Regions from separate parts of the Homo sapiens genome. Here all the other regions are linked to region 2. Evidence: promoter capture Hi-C in 16 types of primary human blood cells and fetal thymus (Javierre and others, 2016). All regions are on one chromosome and are shown on one strand. The core of a region is centred on a gene start or on the middle of the fragment in contact, and the rest is flanking DNA. Distances in the headings are between cores, read along the strand shown.

Region 1 (2,700 bases), core at 30-2,529, 560 kb after region 2:
TTTAGCTTTTTCATTGGTGTGATTGTTATTACCATTATGAGATAATATTTTATTTTTAAAATTATTTTTATTTTTTTAAAGACGGAGTCACACTCTATCACACAGGCTGAAGTGCAATGGCGTGATCTTGGCTCACTGCAGCCTCAACCTCCCTGTGCTCAGGTGATCCTCCCACCTCAGCCTCCCAAATAGCTGGGACTACAGGTGCGTGCCACCAGGTCTGGCTAAGTTTTAAATTTTTTGTACATATGGAGTCTCAGTATGTTGCCCAGGCTGGTCTTGCACTCAGGCGGTCCACCTGCCTTGGTCTGCCAAAATGCTAGGATTACAAGCCTGAGCCTCTGTGCCCGGCCATGAGTGAATATTGTAGAAAGCAGAGACAATGTGCCAGATGTTTGGAGTGAAAAGGACTTGGCTCCTGTTCTCTTAGGATGGACAATGCTACACACAATCCCAAATCACAGGCTATAAGAGAGGTGACCCAATCCTGCAGGACAGTTCAACGTTTCAGATTTGAAGGGGAGTGAGAGAGATCAGAACTGGAGGCCCCTTGTCTGAGCCCCCGACTATGGTGGTCCACGTCACTCCACACGCAGCAGGCACTGTAAATATTTCACCTTCTCTAGACGACAGTAGTTCCTCGAGAACAGGAGCGCTGGGGTAATGCATATGAAGCTCTTAGCACAGTGTCTGGCGCTGCTTCAATGATGGCTATATGATCAATTATTCTTACTCCTTTGAATTCTTGGCAAGAGCTGGCAGGGAACTTTGTACACATCAGGTACAAAAAAACCCATCCGCGCAGTCTAAGATCAAGAAGCTCTTGGCACTCTCTGACAGTCCTCGACAAAGCAATTCCCCTTCTTTCTAACACAGGGTCCGTAAAGGAGATGATCCACAAGGACCGGCTGAGTGGATAAGAAGACAGACTGGCTGAGCGGCTGACCCTGCCAGACGACAGGCTGTGCCTCTTTACCACGGTGCTGCCGTTCCCAAAGTCGGCCTCAGCTTGGTCCTTGGCTGGAAGCTCGTAGCAAAGTTTCTGGGTCAGCAGACCTCATAGGCAAGGGGCCCCTAGCTGGCCGCCCCCAGCCCTGCCAAGGCACCAACGCAAGAAAGCCGGGGGAGCCTCGGTCGCATTGCTGGAAGATCGTCTAAACATCCCCGCTGCTCGGCCGCTAGGCCGGCAGGTGTTCGGGCCCCGCTCCCCCGGCCCGCCCCACCCCCGCGCCCGCGCCGCGCTTCCCTCTAAGAGGCCGGGTCTGAGTGAGCCTGTGCTGAGTCGCCGAGCAGCCCGCTCTCCATGTGACTTCAGTTTCCGTCCGTTCCTTCCGCTGGTGCTAAAATAATCTGATGCCCCACAGCAAGGAGGTAGCCCAGCCCCGCGTTCGGCTGCTCTCGAGGAGGCCGGAGCCCCCGGAGACGATGCGCCCCGCGCAGCCGCCTGCGCCTGCGGGAGCCGTGAGTATTTCCCGCGTGGGGGCGTCCCCGGGGCACAGCCGGGGCCCTTCTCCAGGTGGGCGAGCTCGAGCGAGGTTGGGTGGTAGGAGGTCAGCGTCCGCGGCCCGCAGCTCAGGGCTCACGAGGAAGCTGTGGCTTGCTGCGTCCAAGCGCCGCCGCTTTTGTGCTGGGCGTGGGGGCTGCAGCTCTGGGTGGAGGTGGAAATACCTCCCTCCAGGAGCACTTAGAGCTGAGAAAGGTGGTGCGACGTAGTGGAAACCACGAGGGCTTCAGATTCAGACGTGGGTTTGAGTCCTGGCTCTGCAGGGAGCATGTGAGCAGACAGTTAAGGTTTCTGAGCCTCAGTTTTCTCATCTGCAAAATGGGAACAGAGATGCTCCCTCCCTGGGCTGGGCGACTGGATATGATGAGACCGCTCTGTGCACACTCAGCATGCTGAGCACTGGGCTCTCCTTTCCTGTCCCACAACGTGGATTGAGAACCACTATCTCATAGATGAAGACACTAAGACTGGTTAACAGCAACACCTATCACAGATGCCGTCCACGTGCCAGGCCTGTCCAAGGCCCTGGGGATACAGCTGTGAAAATGTGCAAAGCCCCTTCTCCCACAGAACGTTTGTCCTTGGGAGATTCACTGGGGCTCTGTGACTTGGATCTTAGCCTAGACTTAGATCCATGGCTTATCAGAGGGAGACTAACAGGAGGGCGACGAAGACTCGGACGCTCTTCCGTAGCCCTCGTGGCCCCTGCATGTGGGCCGGCTTCTGAAGGGGTCAGCGTACTTCCCCACGTACCCAGGAGCTAGACGGAAAGAAGTAAGGAGCCACTGGTGTGGCTTTGTGCTGCCTCTGAGAGAAGGTGGACACGTGCCAGTTGGTGGCTGCGACTGGAGGAGGCCGGATCGGGGGTCCTAGGAATGGAGCCTCTCCGGACAGGGCTGGTCGGGGCTGCTGTGCTTCCCTAGGGGCTGAGGGGACCCCACCGGAGGCTTCTTCATGATGGGCACAGCCCGTTAGGAGTCTGGGTGCTAGAAACATTCAGCGTCTGTGGCCCTCCATGCTTTCCTGTGTGCTCCTCACCTGCCGGCTGTGACACACAGACTGTTCTGTGGATGCTGAGGGTTTGCTGGGCTTTACATTTACAATACGTATTTATTCTCCTCACACACCTCTTAGGTTTGTGTGTGTGTGCCCGAGAGTCCCTAAAGGAGATTATAGAATCATGGGCCCAGGAAAAA
Region 2 (2,700 bases), core at 47-2,546:
TCTGAGTTTTCTTGAGAAGCATATTGTAACCCAAAATTCAGGGCCGGGGGGCGGGGGGAACCAGCAGGGTCCACAAGTACTCTAGACAGCCTAACCTTAATTTTCACAGTAAGCTTAGCATATAAGCATGGGGTAGCCAAATACAATTTCCTACTTTAATCCTCTTATCAACGGGGAAGAAAATGGAAAAAGCTGCAGAATCCAGTCCCCCGGGTAAGTGAGGTCTCTACAAGCAGTAAGCAGAGGGAAAGCGTTATCCGAAAAGAGCCGAATCAGAATGTATTTTCTTACCCACCCTCCCAACCTTAAAAGAACTGTCCAGCAGAATGTGACACAATCGGCCTCTCCGGCGCCCATCAATCCAGCACAGCCCTCTGACCACACCGCTAATCTCCAAGTATCTTTCACAAATAAGTCACTCCTATGGCTCCCGTCTTGTAGTGAGAACTGCTAGCAATATTCTTAATGTGAACACCTGCGGCGTTCAGTCGGATTCTGCCTTGAGAAAACAGAATCCACACACAAGGCGAACAGGCAGAGCATGGCAAGATCAGGTTGTACCAGAGCCGAAGGGTAAGTTTACAGAAACCCGTATCTAATTAATGCCTGTAACACGCTAGTAACCGAATCGGGGACAGCTTTGTCCCTTTCCGCAGTGAGAACGGGGCCCGCCCGGAGCCCGGGGAACCGAAGGTTTAGGAGCCCAAGGTCACCCACGAATCCCAGCCGTTCCCTGGGGCGACTTCCTGGAGCAGCCACGTGTTCCCCCGGCGCCGCACGCCGCGCAGCTGCACCTTGGCTGCGCCCGCGCTCCCGGACCCGCAGCCCGGAGCCGGCGCACTAGGGCCTGCGGCCTTCAAGGGCGAGGACCCGAAGTCCCCGGGGCTGAGAGCGACAGTGGGGGTACACCTGGTCTCGTCATTCGTCGCTCTGTGACCGAGGAGGCGGGCAAGAAGGCAGAGAGAAGGGAAGGGACGAGAGGCGAAGGGACGAGAGGCGCAGGGACGCCTCTGCGCACAGCCGCCGACCCCGTGTACCTGCAGCCGCTCGAGGCGCCGCCACAGCCCCTTCCCCACAGGCTCGCGGCCCCGCTCCATCCCGGCCGCCCCGCCTGGGGCCGCGACCGCTTTCCCGCTCCCCGTGCGGCTCCCTATGGCTGCTGGACAGCACCGGAGCGGCCGCTCCAGCCAGCCCCGCAGGATGAAGGGAGGACACGAGGGTCGGTGTAGTTCTAGAAGCCCGCACTCACACTAGCGCGTCCTCCGTCCCGAGCCGCCACCCGATATCCCGACGCTCTGAGGGGATGGCGGCCCCTAACCGGCGGTTTATAGCCTGGCCCCGCCCCCGGCCCCCAGGGGGGCTGTGCGTCACTTCCTGAGGCACGTACGCTCGCGAGGTGCTCTGACAGATCGCCCGGGGGGCGGGGATGCGCGCGCAGCGGGCGGGGCCCTATGCGGAGGGCGCTGCGGGCGAGGCGAAGGCCAAGGGAAAAGGCGCCAAGGCAGCAGGTGCCCCGAGGAGCCGCGCGATGGGCGCACTGGCCTCTGCCTCGGCGCCTTCCTCCACCCTGGTAGCCTGGCAGCCTCCGCCTGACCTTGACCAACCTCCAGTCCCTGCAGTGCTAGGTCCAATCTGTTGGCGTTGACGCTTAAATGTTGGATATTGCACTGCGGCAGTGCCTTGAAATGTACGTGCAGGATGGAATGTTAGGTAACTATTAAAGCCACTCTTGTGAAGATGTATTTTGCAGCCTCAGAAATACAAAAAGGAAAAGAAAAGCAAAATGCAAATTTTTATTCAGAATGTATACAAGCTGCACTTTAACCAAGACTAGCGGAGTGCTTTGCGTAATGTTTAATGCATGAGGGAATAAAAGGGAAAATAGAAACAAGTGACTTAATAGGGTGATAGGATTGTAGATTAACTTTCGTTTTCATTGCCATCGCTGTTATTGGATTGTGCAATGAATAACAAATAAATAAAATTCAATTCTTGTCACTGTTTAAACTCTTTCCAAACAATCACACCCTCTCCCTCCCTCTGGTCAGTAACCAGCAGGCCAGGGAGGTAGTAGCTACAATGCAAGAAAGCAACCCATACCTTAAAAAGCATTGCACATAAACTGACCTTCAGGCCCGTAGGGACACAGAACAGCCCTTTAAGAAGCAAATCCGTTTCTGGGCCTTGGGCTTTTACTCTTCCCTTTATTTCTTCTGCTCTAAGATAGAGAAAGTACTTGGGATTCTCACCGCCTTTCTCTTTACTCCCATTCTCTAAAATCTCTCTCCCCAAAGAGAAGTGTTTAAAAGTCATATGAGTTGCCAGGCGCGGTGGCTCACGCCTGCAATCCTAACACTTTGGGAGGCCGAGGTGAGCGGATCACGAGGTCTGGAGTTCGAGACCAGCCTGACCAATATGGTGAAACCCCATCTCTACTAAAAAAATTTCAAAAAAAATTAGCCAGGCATAGTGGCACGCGCCTGTAATCCCAGCTACTCAGGAGGCTGAGGCAGAAGAATCGCTTGAACCCAAGAGGCGGAGGTTGCAGTGAGCCAAGATCGCGCCATTGCACTCCAACCTGGGCGACAGAGCAAGATTCCATCTCAAAAAAAAAAAAAAGTCATATGAGCAGGAGCATTGCTGCACCTTTAATGATCTAATCAGGAAAAGGTTAAGGATGCACATCCACAGAGGGCCTAC
Region 3 (2,700 bases), core at 28-2,527, 660 kb after region 2:
TTTATTTCCCTTCTATTCTTGCATCTCTATACTCCATTATCCACATTGCAGTCTAGTGATCTTAAAGTGTAAGCCAGGTAACATCGCTTTCCTGCTTAAAAAAGCCTTTTAATGGTTTTTTGTAATATAGACTTTTTACCATGGCATTCAGGATCTTTCATGACCTGAATCTTGTCTGCTGTAGTGTTTTCTTAATAGTACCGCCTTCTTGTTCTAGGCCCCAGCTACACAGGCCTTCTTAACTGACCGTAGCAAGCCCTTTTCTTTCTTCTCCTGCCTGTATTGCTTTTCTCTGGGTGCTTCTTATTGCTGTCTCTTTCTGTTCTTGCCTTAAGTGTCACCTCCTTAACGAGGCCTTCTCCGACCACCCTATCCAAAGTAACCTCGCCAAGTTTTTTCTTATACCAGGTGTGACTACTTTAATTACTGCGTCCTCATATAAGCTCCACAAAGGCTTGGTGAATCGTGTTCACCCTTGCATTTCTTTTGTGTTTTTTGTTTTGTTTTTGAGGCATGACGACTCTGTCACGCTGAAGTGCAGTGGCCCGATCTTGGCTCACTGCAGCCTCCTCCTCCTGGGTTCAAGCGATTCTCCTGCCTTAGTCTCCCGAGTAGCTGGGACTACAGATGCGTGCCACCATGCCCAGCTAATTTTTGTATTTTTAGTAGAAACGGGGTTTCATCGTGTTGGCCAGGCTGGTCTCGAACTCCCGACCTCAGGTGATCCGCCTGCCTCAGCCTCCCAAAGTGCTGGGATTACAGGCGTGAGCCACCGCACCTGAACCACCCTTGTATTTCTGATGCTTAACAGTGTCTAGTCCATATCAGACACTCAAATATTTGTAGAATAAGTGAAACATTGATGAACTCCTCCGTGGATAAAATAGGGAAGTCTTAATTTGCAAGGAGGTGATACTTAATTTAGCAGCAAAATTTTAGTTAAGAATTTGTAAGCAAAAAAGCAAAATGGATAACGGATGAATTCCCAGAAACAAATGTCGCGGAGCAGATGTGTATAACAGCAATCGTCTGTCAGCGTCTTCCGTCGGCAGAGACCTGCTTGGAGACAATGCTGAATTAAATGAGGGACTGGCTGCTCCTCTCAATACAAAGACTACCCAAGGAATAAAAGCAACGTCTATCACCGAACTACTACTCCCAGCGGCCCCCGCGCGGGCCTGCCCATGGGAGGTGGCGCTCGTCTCCGCCCCGGGGAGCTCCGGCTTCGGGGCGGGAGGGGTTCTGGGTTCTGGCCCCGCCCCGCCCCGCTCCCCGCCGTCTTCCTCCCCCAGGGTTGTGGCCACGCGCAGCGGCGGCGGTTGTTCCGCTTCCCCTCCGGCCCGGGCCGTCGCCATTGCCGAAGGCTCCCTCCCCTCCCCTCCCTGGCGTGCGCAGGACTCCGCCGCCGCTGGGCCTAGCGGTAGCAGCGGCTGCTCCAGCGCGGCGTCTCTTCCCGCCCCGCTTCCCCTTCCCTCCCCTCCCCTCCCCGCACCGCGCGCTAGCCCGGGGCGGCTCCGCAGCCCGCCGGGAGCTCTGACCGAGGCGCCTCGCTGGGGCGGGGACCTTGCCTTGCCCGGGGTAAGTGCACACAGGCCGGCCGGCGCGGGACGCAGGCCGGGTCTCTTCCTCCTCCTTCCTTCTCCGTGGCCTGGCGGGCGGGAGCGGCCCGGGACGGCCGACCTGCCCCGCGCGGGGCCGGGGAGCCGCCACCTGCGTGCTGGGAGCCGCAGCTCCTGGGGCGGTGGCTCATTGTCTGCTCCCCAGGGCCGTTTTCTTCGCTGGCTTTAGCCAGAAATGGGAAGCTCGCTGGGCTGCGGAGGTCTGACTCTTCCTGGACCCAGCCCTGCTCTGAACCTCGCGGCACCACGGTCTCTGCCGACTCTCGGTCTTCCCTCCCCTCGCGTTTCACCCTCTTCCTTTGCTCCGTTTTCTTAATGCTGGACCAGACTCTCCGGTTTTGTTCCTTGATTTTTCCTCTCACTGATTCTCAGCCCCTGCTTGCTCGCTCTCTGTTCACCCGTTTCACTGCTCAGGAATATTGTCGCGAGTAGCTTGACTGTTTTCTCAGCTCCAGCCTGTAACCTCTTTTCCACATTCCACATTGGTAAAAACGTAGAGCGTCCCGGGCGCTTGAGGGCCACCGCTTACGAACTGATCTTTCGGAGCTTCTCCTCGCTCCTGTTTGAGCTTCAGCCTAGGGGTGAAATTTGCTTCTTTAGATAACTTAGGTGAAGTTAAGATTGGTTTTTCACCATGTTTGGCTCTCTTGGAAACACACGCACGCACAAACACAAAACGTTGCCACTCAACCTTTTAACTAATTCTTTAAAGATAAGTCATCCAAGAACAGAAGCGTGTCATCGTCAGTGGGTGTGAGGTTGTACCCATCCTTGTATCTTAATTTTAGTAGTACTCTCCCTGGGCAGTGTGAGCGTGATTTGTTGTCCCTTGATAAATAACGAACTCCGGTTGATATCATTATCTCACTTCTGCGTTACAGGCGATGTGTCCTTTCTTTGTTTTCTTTTTTAACCTTTATAAAAAGACAAAATGGTTAGGCCTAAAATTAAACTACGAAGAGCTGTGTTTTGGATCAAGGTTGTGCACGTCACGTTTTTTCCCCTGCTGTGTTCGACTCTTCCGCTCTTATAAGTAGGCAGGATATTGAAATGTACAAGAATTTGCTCTGGGGATTTTGTT
Region 4 (2,700 bases), core at 153-2,652, 860 kb after region 2:
ATCGCTCTGTTGCCCAGGCTGGAGTGCAGTGGCGCGATCTCACAGCAACCTCCACCTCCCCGGTTCAAGCGATTCTCCTGCCTCAGCCTCCCGAATAGCTGGGATTACAAGCGCCTGCCACCACGCCCGCCTAATTTTTGTATTTTTAGTAAGACGGGGTTTCACCATCTTGGCCAGGCTAGTCTTGAACTCCTAACCTCGTGATCCACCCGCCTCAGCCTCCCAAAGTGCTGGGATTACAGGCGTGAGCCACCGTTCCCAGCCTTGACTAAATAAATCTAAGAGCTTCCCTAATTTAGCGTCAAACAAAATTTCCCTTTCCCTACTCTAGTAACACATTTCACACATTCTCCACACTTACCCTCTGCTATATGCGCCCCTTCCTTTCCCAGTCACAAGGGGATTTTTCCCTTTTCTGAATCCTCACTACAGGGGATTATGAGCTCGCAGAGCGCAGAAACTGTCTTCCCTCTCCCTCTAGGGTTTAGCACAAGGATTTGGCGACAGCACTCGATAAACGTTTACTAAATAATTGGGTTAATGAGTCCCGCCCCGCCAACCCCCAACCGTATTCCATCCCTACCTCCGCTGATACTGAAAAGTCTACTTTGAATATCTGCTGCCTCCCCTTTTTCCACAAAATATACTGTGATATAGTCCGGACTAAAAATTTCCCTCTTCTGAAATCCAGCAATTCTCCGATCTTTACATCCGAACACCCTCAAAGTGCCGAGCTTGGCGGGTCCACCTCCCCACTCCGAAGCTTCCCCGAGGGCGGAGTGAGGACTCCACTTGTGTCTCCCACGCACCGCGTACAGCTTCCGTAACACCATCCTCCCAGAGAAGGGGCCCGAATCGCCGAAGGGCACTGCTTCGCCGATTTAAAAAACAAAGCAAAAAGCCCCGCATCTGCATCAGGAAGGCGCCTCTGCCTACTCTGGGAGAGAGAAGGGCACCCCTCCCCCTTGCTACGTAGTCGTCTGCGGAGGCACAACCGTGGAAACGGGAGCCGCCACCACCACCACCGCTCAAACCTCTCGGCACTGGCTGGGGTACAGGGAGCGGCTGCGAGCGAATGGGATAAGCGAGCCTCCAGTTCCCCGTCTTCCAGAGCAAGTGGCTTCAGTGATATCCAAGCGCCCTTCCAGCACCCATTCCCTGCCTCGCCAGCAGGCACCGGGGCCCCACTTGGCGTTTGCGGATTTCAGCTGAATGGGAGGCGACACAATGAGACAAGAGCAAACCGTTTCTCAGCGTTCTTGCCCAGGGCCTTCCCGTCTCGCGGCCCGGCCTCCCTCACCCGGAAGTGCTGGTCCCGGTACTGGCTCAGCTCCACGTAGGAGTCGCTGCGCAGCGCCTTCAGGAGGCCACCCGACATAGTGCAGAGAAGCGGACCACAATGCGGCGACTCCCGGCACGAGGCTGCGTCCGCGATGGCGGAAGCGGAAACGCGCGGAGGCGAGCATCTCATTGGACCCAATCCGAGGGCGGCGTGTCGTCATCAAGCTGCGCGGGGGCATAGACGTCCGGGTCGGGCGCCGCGGGGCGGAAGACGAGGGCGGCGAGGTCGGGTTCCGGGCGCTTGGAGAAGATGGTGCTGCGGCGGCTGCTGGCCGCCCTGCTGCACAGCCCGCAGCTGGTGGAACGTCTGTCAGAGTCGCGGCCTATCCGACGTGCGGCGCAGCTCACGGCCTTCGCACTGCTGCAGGCCCAGCTGCGGGGCCAGGACGCGGCCCGCCGCCTGCAGGACCTCGCGGCTGGGCCCGTGGGCTCCCTGTGCCGCCGCGCTGAGCGATTTAGAGACGCCTTCACCCAGGAGCTACGCCGCGGCCTCCGAGGCCGCTCGGGGCCACCACCAGGTAGCCAGAGGGGCCCTGGCGCAAACATTTAATCCTGGGCTGTGCGGGGCCGAGGCCGCTTGCTTTTCCTTCCGGGCTCTACAGTGGCATCAATGTGGAGGGGTCATTCCGGGCACTGCGCGCGGCTTCGAATCCCGACTGGGATTGTTGGCCTGCAGACATCCCACGCATAAGAGCCTAGGCCAGACCGCCCGCTCCGTTGAAGTCTTGTGATTGGACAAGACACAGTGTGGAGACAGCCCTAAGCCTAACAGAGATGAAGGTAGGCTGGGTCCAGACACGGCACCTACGGAGAGCCACGGACCGAAGCCAGAGAGCCTTTCCTCTGCAAGTGGGACTGAAACTCTTGACAGATGCTGCTCAATCTGACTGGTATAGCAGGACAGTTAATTCCAGGGACGATATGGATGAAAAGACAACCCTACAGCTGCCAAATTCCTTTGATTAAATGTGTGAGCTGGTTGATAGGCATGAGTGTGATACTTCTCAGGCAAGATGTGTTAAGAATACCGGGGACTGTAGGCCTATGGTAATAATAAACACGTATTTTATGAAATGAGTCTTCTGTGCTGGGACTTGCTCATTGCACTCTATGTGTTATCTCACTCCTTACAACGACATTCACATGAGGAAGCAGATTACTTTTTGGATTTTTTTGTAGAGATGGGGTGGTCTCGAACTCTTGGGCGCAAGTGATCCTCCCGCCTCAGCCTCCCAAAGTGCTGGGATTATAGGCAAGAGCCACTGCGATGGAAACAGAGGCTGCTGCTTAAGTTGCCCAAAGTCTTGCAGAGTGGGATGTGAGCAGAGGCATTTGACTCCAGGGCCTAAGTCCTTAACA

Evidence for each region. The method cuts DNA at HindIII sites, captures the fragments that hold promoters and counts their contacts. A CHiCAGO score of 5 or more calls a contact.
Region 1: the fragment with the promoter of NRROS here is called in contact with the fragment with the promoter of TFRC in region 2 in 8 of 17 cell types (fetal thymus, total CD4 T cells, megakaryocytes and 5 more); the score reaches 12.8 in fetal thymus.
Region 3: a contact is called between the fragment with the promoter of PAK2 here and the fragment with the promoter of TFRC in region 2, in 6 of 17 cell types (naive CD8 T cells, non-activated CD4 T cells, total B cells and 3 more). The highest score is 12.0, in naive CD8 T cells.
Region 4: a contact is called between the fragment with the promoter of NCBP2 here and the fragment with the promoter of TFRC in region 2, in 1 of 17 cell types (fetal thymus). The highest score is 6.5, in fetal thymus.

What each region holds. Positions count from the first base shown.
Region 1 is chr3:196,638,415-196,641,114 of GRCh38, forward strand. It overlaps NRROS (negative regulator of reactive oxygen species), which reads left to right and starts at 1,280. Exons shown (of 3, transcript NM_198565.3): 1 at 1,280-1,461. RefSeq lists silencers at 917-1,346, 1,367-1,466 and an enhancer at 1,917-2,036. The HindIII fragment of the contact is 14,541 bases long and covers 1-2,700 here.
Region 2 is chr3:196,080,794-196,083,493 of GRCh38, forward strand. TFRC (transferrin receptor) reads right to left here and starts at 1,297. Exons shown (of 19, transcript NM_001128148.3): 1 at 1,250-1,297. RefSeq lists an enhancer at 1-48 and silencers at 930-1,229, 1,280-1,619. The HindIII fragment of the contact is 5,608 bases long and covers 112-2,700 here.
Region 3 is chr3:196,738,580-196,741,279 of GRCh38, forward strand. It overlaps PAK2 (p21 (RAC1) activated kinase 2), which reads left to right and starts at 1,278. Exons shown (of 15, transcript NM_002577.4): 1 at 1,278-1,578. RefSeq lists a silencer at 1,069-1,858. The HindIII fragment of the contact is 10,729 bases long and covers 1-2,700 here.
Region 4 is chr3:196,941,126-196,943,825 of GRCh38, forward strand. NCBP2 (nuclear cap binding protein subunit 2) reads right to left here and starts at 1,403. Exons shown (of 4, transcript NM_007362.5): 1 at 1,301-1,403. The coding sequence starts at 1,378. It overlaps NCBP2AS2 (NCBP2 antisense 2 (head to head)), which reads left to right and starts at 1,549. Exons shown (of 1, transcript NM_001355243.2): 1 at 1,549-2,418. The coding sequence starts at 1,592. The coding sequence ends at 1,891. NCBP2-AS1 (NCBP2 antisense RNA 1) reads left to right here. Exons shown (of 3, transcript NR_046630.1): 2 at 1-17; 3 at 1,268-1,409. RefSeq lists enhancers at 735-1,408, 867-1,106, 1,137-1,276, 1,327-1,626, 1,409-2,082 and 1 more. The HindIII fragment of the contact is 3,931 bases long and covers 762-2,700 here.